Regions from separate parts of the Homo sapiens genome. Here region 2 is linked to region 1. Evidence: promoter capture Hi-C in 16 types of primary human blood cells and fetal thymus (Javierre and others, 2016). All regions are on one chromosome and are shown on one strand. Each heading gives the region's core, a stretch centred on a gene start or on the middle of the fragment in contact. The rest is flanking DNA. Distances are from core to core; before and after follow the strand shown.

Region 1 (4,218 bases), core at 1-2,500:
CAGGTCCACCAGGTTGAGGGCGCTGCGCGCGAAGCGCCTCAGGTCGGGCGTGGAGGCTAGGCGCAGCAGGTACTCGAGCGTGAAGAAGCCCATGCACAGCATCTCCACGTGCTCCAGGATGGGCCGCAGGTCTGGGCCGCCCTCGCCCTGCCCCGAGTGCTGCTGCATCTCCTCCACGGTGTTGAGCGCCAGCGCCACCACGGAGACGAGCACGAAGGTGCTGGAGGCCACCCCGATGGCCTTGGCGGCCACCGAGGAGAATGGCTTCTCCATGAGGTTCCAGAGGCGGCGCCGCTGCGGGCCGTAGAAGCGCATGTCGCGGAAGAGTTCCTCCGCCTCCTCGACCTGCGCCTGCGCGCGCAGCTCGTGCTGGATCTTGAGCCGTTCGCTCAGCTCGTCGCGCCGCTCCTCGAAGCAGATGCGGCAGCAGCGTGGCGTGTACTTGAGCCGCACGCCCCAGTAGCCCAGCTCCTCCAGGAAGCGGCGCGGACACAGCCCGTCGAGCACCAGCAGCACCCCGGACAGGTAGAAATTGTAGACCAGCTGGAAGACGGCCGGGTCGCGGTCGAAGAAGTATTCGTCTGTCTGCTCCTCGTAGTCGTCGCACAGGCTTAGCTGGCGGCTGCGGCTGGTGGAGGTGGCCAGGCGACCTAGGCGCGTCTTGGGGAAGCCGGCCAGCTCGCAGTAGTCCAGCTGGTAGCTGTGGCCACCCACGTTCACATTCAGCGTGGACAGCAGGGCCGGAGGGTCGCTGGGGCCCTCGGGCTTGGCGGTGGTGACCTCCCCTGCCTGCTGGTCCTCTTCTGCCAGGTCGTCCTTCCACTGGTCCTCCTCCTCGCCGTCTTCGTCTTCCTCGATGTAGTAGTTATAGTTGCCCTCTGTCCAGCCGTGGATGCTGGCCTGGGAGCCGGAACGGGCACCCAGGGAGCAAATGCTCCTGCGGTGTTGGCTGCCCTCATTCTCCGTCGTGTTCCAGGGCCTGTAGCTCCAGGACCGTCTCCTCTCACTCTGTTTGAGCATGGCTGCGGAAAGTGGACGCCTAGCTTTTTCCTCCTGGCTGTGGTAGGGGTCCCTCACCTGCTCACTGCCTCTAGGAGGATGGATCACGTGGCCTGCACTGTCTTAGAGAGGCCAGCCCGGACCAGCACAGCTAGGGGCTCAGACATTGCCACCGGAGCTGCCCCTTCTCAGGTCCTGGGCAGGCCAGCCCAGCCTGCAGGGTCTGAACGCAGTCAGCTGTTGACTGCTCTAATCTTGCTGATTTGGAAGAAGCAAGTGTTAGGAGGGATTTAGAACCTCTTAGCCCATTTCCTCCCCCACTCCCTTGACCCTGTGAGGTAGAGGATGATTATGTGGTCTTAAATCTCTAGGTAATCAGAAGAAGGCAGAGATTATTGCTAATAAAAATGTCGGTCAACCTCGCTCTTAGGAAGCGCTCAGTGTATGTGTGCTGAGATGAAATCAACTGAATTAGCTATAGAATACGGATGCCTGTGTCTTCAGCTTCATGGTTGAGATGGTAGCCTCTGCCCTAGGTAAACTCACCATTAGCAGGGATGACACATAGCAACGGAACAAAGCTGACTTCATGACAAGTCAGTTTCCCTCTCAGCGTAACTCTTCGTTTAGAGCATATAAGATCTAAAGCCATCTCCTTCTTGTCCATTCACATGATCACATTTTTTTTTTTTTTTCAAATGGATTCTCCCTGGGGCACTGTTCAGGTCCAGTCGGATCTTTGAGTCAGCTTCAGCTTCTCTCTCTCCTTTTTATCTCCTCCCTTTCTCTTAAAGGATAGAGACATGTTTCAAGGTAGAATTCCAGGAATGGTAGGAAGACGTTTTTAGGGCCTCACAACCCTGCTCAGCAATATTAGGCCATATTTAAAGGGAGCCTGACTTCCACCCAAAAAAAAAGGGTCTTCTTCATCCTTCAAAACATCACTTTAAAAAAAAAAAAAAAACCCTTTTCATGATTAAGGCAATGTGCAAATGCTGGATATGCAAACACGATGGAGACACAGTTGTAGCAGTCAAAGAACTCTTGGTTTTGTTGGGGATATAAACATGCAAGGATAACAAAAGATGCAATAAATACTGGGGAGGAGAGAAGCAGGAGGGATTTGCTTTGAGCAGGGAATTGGTTTTTCTATTCAATTTATTTTGCATAGCTAATACACATTCATGATAAAAAATTGTAAAGGTAAAAAGACATATTACAGTAGAAAGTTTATGTCTTTCCCACCCATAATTTCAAGACATCAGGTGTACCTCAAGGAAGCAACCACTATTACTACCTTTTGGCTATCCTTCCAGAAATATTCTAAACATATACAAGCAAAAATATACCTACCTTTATCCATCATCTCAGTACCTCTTCATTATTAATAGAAATCATAGAATGCTATATACTTTGCCTTTTCCAGTTGGCCATATAAAAGATGTTTTCATATTTGAACACAAATATCTACCTTATTTTAAAAATAGCCACTGAGCACTTTCCTAATGACAGACATTCAGAATGTTTCTACCTTTGCTTTTATGGACAATTATGCAACAAATACCTTATATGTACATCACTTTACACATGTTCAAGATATATAAAGGATAAATTCTTAGAGGTGAGATTACTAGGTCAAAGATTGCACATTTGTAATTTTGATTAGTAGTGCTACATTTCTCTCCATAAAAGTTTTACCAATTTACAATTCATCAACGGTTGAAAATGTCTTATACTTTTTTAACTCTACCAATTTTGTAAGTGAAAAATGATGTGTGGGTTAATTTGTATTTCTTATAAATGTGATTGAACACTTTTTCATGTGATTAAAAGCTATTTCTTTTTCTGGGAACTGTCTGTTCATCGACTTTGCCTATATTTTCCACTGAGTTGTTTACATTTTTCTTATTGATTTGTAGGAGAGCTTAATACATTATGAAAAAAGACCCTTTACTTGTGATATGGATTGCACCTTTTTTCGGTTTTAACTTTAATATTTTTTCCATGTAAAAATCTTTATTTTATGATTTCTGGGTGTTGTGTAGTATTAGAAAAGGCTTCACCTCTCTGTAAATAAAACTTTTCTTTTTATAGTTTTAACATCAGAAATTAATTTTGATGTAAAGAGTGAAGTAGGGGCCTAACTTTATTTTCCAAGCTTTTATCCAGATGTTTCAACACATTAATTGCATAATCCATCATTTCCTCACTGATTTGTGGTACTATCTTTGTCACTTAGTTGAGTTTTAACTATGCTTCAAAGTTGTTGAGACGGGTAACGTTATGAGGTCTGCATCTGCTAGTGTGGCATTCACTGATGTTGTTTAGCTTGCAATAGGCCTCAGACCTACAAGCTTATGGTAAAGCTTCTTACCAGGCTTAGCCTTTAAGTTCCTAAATGTATTTCTAGCGTTCCCTTTTTGGTATACAATATTGATGTTGTTTTGCTAGCCACACACTTAATTGCTTTCCAAGTCTATCTTTTCTTTATATTGTGCTGAGTACTGCCATAATAGATTTTGCATGTTGCATAAATTCACCTTTTCTCTTCAGAACCAATTATACTATTATAAAAAGTAAAGACTGGGTGTGGTGGCTCACGCCTGTAATCCTAGCACTTTGGGAGGCCGAGGTAGGTGGATCACTCGAGGTAAGGAGTTTGAGACCAGCCTGGCCAACTTGGTGAAACCCCATCTCTACTAAAAATACAAAAATTAGCCGGGCTGGGCATGTTGGCGGGTGCCTGTAATCCCAGTTACTCAGGAGGCTGACACACAAGAATTGTTTGAACCCGGGAGACAGAAGTTGCAGTGAGCTGAGATCATGCTGCTATACTCCAGCCTGGGTGACAGAGTGAGACTTGGTCTCGACAAAAAAAAAAAAAGTAAAAATATCACCATTTTCATATTTTTATCTTCTTCTTTTTCAATTGAAATAATATACTACTTTTTTTTTTTTTTTTTGAGACAGAGTCTCACTGTGTTGCCCAGGCTGGAGTGCAGTGGCGTGATCTCGGCTCACTGCAATCTCCGCCTCCTGGGTTCAAGCAATTCTTCTGCTTCAGCCTCCTGACTAGCTGGGATTACAGGCGCCCGCCAGCATGCCTGGCTAATTTTTGTAATTTTAGTAGAGATGGGGTTTTGTCATGTTGGCCAGGCTGGTCCCGAACTCCTGATCTCAGGTGATCCACCCACCTTGGTCTCCCAAAATGCTGGGATT
Region 2 (4,375 bases), core at 1,721-4,220, 520 kb after region 1:
GATTACAGGCATGAGCCACTGCACCAGTCTCAGGTTGTATTGAGATAACTGGGGAAGTGGCATTTGATAGCCTCTATGCTTGTATGTGTTAATGTGTGCAAGAAGAAAGGTGCAGAAGTAACCACATCAGACTATTAAAGCTGATTGCCTAGTGGGGGAGGTGAATGCTAAATTAATTTTCTTTGTATTATTTCGCTGGTTGTGGTGGATACATGTCCATTTTATAATCCTAGAAGAGGAATTTAATTAAAATTTTTACAAGAGAATTAAGAAATACATGTATTTGCTTGAGGGACTATGAGTCTGTTCACTTTGAGGTTTATAATCCCACAGTGAGCCTTGCTTCATAACTGCGTTTGGGTTCACAAAGAGGCCTCGTTCTTGTGTATAGCAAAATTAGTGTTTAGAAACGGAAAACTTGCTTCCCTGTAGTTGCCAGACTTAGTTGCCTTGTATTATTCAACTTAGCCCTTACGGAAAGTGACGCAGAACACAAACACCTTCTTGCATAAAGCGGCTCAGGCATTTGGAACACGTCACTTTCCTTCTATGAAGCTCAATGTCCTAAACAACACCAGGGATGAATACAGTTCACCTGGACCAAGGTTTAGCGATTCTAGCCCTATCAGTCATTATTCCTGACCCTATGCTCTATCATTTTTCATTACTCCTCCCCAGGCAAAACAGATTCACACACTATATGACAGTATATACAAATAAGAACAGAAATTGTACTTTATCTAGTTTGATGCAGGCTCTTAGTAAATTTTAAGAAAAGGATTAGATGTGCCCATTTCTTCAAGAATAAGATTGACTCCTAAAATTCTTGTGGGAAAAACATTTATTCATAAAGGGAGAGTATGTCTCTACCTTTCTGCTAAGTAAACCAAAGATATTTCCCCCAAGTATTACACCACATCACTCTCAATGAAGGTTAAGTCAAGCACAAATGAAGATTGCTGCCTTGTAATGTACGAGACAGAAAAGCCGTTTCAGAGAGAGAAAAAAAAAATATTCAGCTTTTCCTATTATTCCCATTGATGGTGACTTTCTTTTTAGAAGAATGACAATTGCGTGCTGGGTGTATATGCCTGTACCGATGATCTAAATCAAGACCAGTATGGCCTCATATTGTTCCTCAGGAATGAAATAATAGAGATTATTAAAAGCCTAATAGACTAGTGGTTCTCAAACTTGAGTATATATCAGAATCATCTGGAGCGTATGTTCTATTAGGGGGCCCCACCCTCAGAGTTTCTGATTCAGCAGGTCTGGGATGAGGCATGAGAATGTGCATTTCCAATGTTTCCAAGTCATGCTGATGCTGCTAGTTTGGGGACCACACTCTGAGAAACACTGGTTTCAAAACTGTCAATGATTGAAGGGCCCTTAAAAGCCATCTCCAGTCTATTTCTTGACTTTGAGAATCTTTCTGGATGTTTTAATGACATTTAATTTACAAGCAATTTTTTCTAACATACTGCAAACCTTTGACAACACGACAGTATGTCTCAACTACACAGCTTGCAATTACAGGACGACTCACTTATTCTTCACGTTTTATAGAGGAAATCAAAACTCAAATAAGGCTGTGGCAAAATCCAGAATAACCCACACATTTGACTCCCAATTAAGGGCCATGATCCTAATTTCTCATCTGAATAATTACACTTAAAGATAAATAAGCAGCCTTAGAGGGAAAAAGGTCTTTTAAAACCTTTATATTCCTGCTACAGTACATCTGGTTCCAGTATATTCTGGCTATATAATATCTCTAATGGGAAATTGAGAGGTTCATATTTAAAACACCCCATTTTAAGGGTCTGACCTATGAAAATAGTCTGAGAATCATGTTTCTGGTGGCATAACTCAGGCAGATCCAGCTGTGATGTGTGCCAACTCGGGTCCACGTAGCAGACTGACACTAGAGTAAGAGGCCAGGCTTGGATAGGGGGGCAGTCAGGCGTCTGTTCCTTCAGGTGGCACTGGTGGTGGCTCTAGACTCTCCACATGGGAAGTGCTTAGGAATTCCAGTCTGGTTGGATATGGAACTGGAGGACTTGAAGATATAATTGCACGCTAAGCCTACTCTGTCCAGCACCTATGGAGATGATGGGGTGTAAAAACCTCTTTCTCAGAAAACACGTGGTCTTATCAATGTGTGGGGCAAACATGAACTTGGTCACTACGTATACATATGGCATTATATCTGATGGGTGGATGATGGCAGTAGTGATATCTAAGTCAGTAGCCTTTAGGAACCATCAGTAGCTGGGACCTAAGGACCCCATTCTGGCCCTTGCAGAGGACTGTGAAGGAAGAGCCAGAGTAGCAGGGCCCAGCCAAGAAAACTGGGTCTCAGTGGAAAGGCTCACGGGAACTAGAAACCTGAGCCAGGACTTCTCTGTAAGCCCAATTGTGTCAGCAAGTGCCAGGTAAATGGGTGCCTGAAGCTTATCAACAAGATCAGTTCCAGGCCTCACTCACTGAGGGGAGGTGGGGAAGCTCCAAGGAATATGGGGTCTGGAATCAAACAAATCTAACTTCCAACTTTTGGTGCACAGCTCTTTGCTCTTCAATCTCTTCTTTGCATTATCTTTATTTGTCAAATGGGAACAAGAACTATGCCTTCCTCACGTTCTTGTAATTGAATAAAATAACGCAATCAGTACATAGCCTGATACTCTTAGATTCCTTCCTCTGTTCCTAAAACACCTTTGACCTTGGAAAGAACTACGCTGATGGGCTCAGCAACTAGAGCTGAACAAGAAGGCTGCCACAACGTGGTAAACAGGTCCGCATAGGCACATGCTCGGGATGGCCCGCCCCATCCTTAGCCCTCGCGATGGCCCGTCTTCTTGTTAGTGCATGCTCACTCTGCTGCCACCTCAATTATCACCTGGACTGTTTACCACCAGTCCCACCCGAAGGAGAAGAGACTCCTGTTCTCAATGATCATCCCTGGCTCTCATTTCCATTATAGCCAAAGAGAATAACACATTCTCCTTGAAGGATTAGAGAACATTCTTCACACAATAGAAATCCTGAACGATGGAGACAGTGGTTTTGAGGGCGTTAGAAACAGCAATGCTTCTGAAGCCAAGGAGAGATTGCAAAGAGCACAAAAAATACAGAAAATACAGAAATAGAAGCAAGCAAAGATGATTGTTTTCTTTGAACTGATACCAAATCATCTCAGTAAGAGAAACTAATATGGGTATACTGTTTCATGGAGGTCTCCAATCCTATTGCAGTTAGCAAATCCGAGAAACCAACCGAGAAGGGAAACTTCTCCTGAACTCTCAGACTACTGGAAATTAACAAACGAGTTGACATTTAGAGAGACAAAGAAGTTTCTCAGGACTGTATTCTGTGTGGATCAAATTTCCTTCAGGATTCACAGCAGTATGCGGCATTGGCAAATCCTCACATGTAAAAGCAAGGATCCTGGAGTTCTCCTTAGATCATTCTAAAAAAGGAAGCTTTCACCAACCCAGCAGTGTTGAAGGAAAACTCTCCCATTTTGATCCTATCATCATCACATCACCAGTTCCTTAAGAAAGAATCGGCCGGGCACGGTGGCTCACGCCTGTAATCCCAGCACTTTGGGAGGCCGAGACAGGCAGATCACGAGGTCAGGAGATCGAGACCATCCTGGCTAACAGTGAAACCTTGTATCTACTAAAAATACAATAAATTAGCCGGGCATGGTGGCGGGCACCTGTAGTCCCAGCTACTTGGGAGGTTGAGGCAGGAGAGTGGCGTGAAACGGGTGGGGGGGAGGTGGGCAGAGCTTGCAGTGAGCTGAGATCGCGCCACTGCACTCCAGCCTGGGCAATAGTGTGAGACTCCGTCTCAAAAAAAAAAAAAAAATTGCCCATCTTTGTGCTATTTTTTTGAGAACTTTAAAAAAGATATTGAGACAAATGTTACAATCAAACACAAAAAGTGTGAGCCTTGAAAAGATCCTGGCTAAAACTAAACAAATACAAGATGATGTTAGGACAGTTGGGAAAATGTGACTATGGCTTGTTTCTTAGATATCAGGGAACTATTGTTAGTTAATTCCTTTTGGTATGATATAGGACTGTGGTTGGCTACAAGATACGCTTATTCTTAGATTTGTGCTGAAATACTAGGTGCGAAGTATCGTAATGACTGACGGCACCTTATTTTCCAATGGTTTGGTAAAATAAAACGGGGTGGGGATGAACTATTAATCATTGTTGAATCTCAGGTGGAGGGTATATAGGTGTTCATTGAACCAGTCTTTCGATGGAATATTTTTGAAATCTTTCAAAATCAAAAGGCATAAATAGCAATAGAGAGAGATTTTCCAACTAAGAAACAGAATTTAAGGCTGAGCAGGGACTTC

The links. Contacts are between HindIII fragments. The CHiCAGO score rates a contact against its expected background, and 5 or more counts as called.
Region 2: a contact is called between a fragment that was not itself captured here and the fragment with the promoter of KCNV2 in region 1, in 1 of 17 cell types (M2 macrophages). The highest score is 5.0, in M2 macrophages.

What each region holds. Positions count from the first base shown.
Region 1 is chr9:2,714,542-2,718,759 of GRCh38, reverse strand. KCNV2 (potassium voltage-gated channel modifier subfamily V member 2) reads right to left here and starts at 1,250. Exons shown (of 2, transcript NM_133497.4): 1 at 1-1,250. The coding sequence starts at 1,020. The HindIII fragment of the contact is 3,823 bases long and covers 1-3,159 here.
Region 2 is chr9:2,193,860-2,198,234 of GRCh38, reverse strand. All of the region lies in intron 2 of LOC107987043 (a long non-coding RNA gene), which reads left to right. Among named protein-coding and RNA genes, the nearest start is that of SMARCA2, 180 kb to the right of the region's middle. The HindIII fragment of the contact is 1,029 bases long and covers 2,456-3,484 here.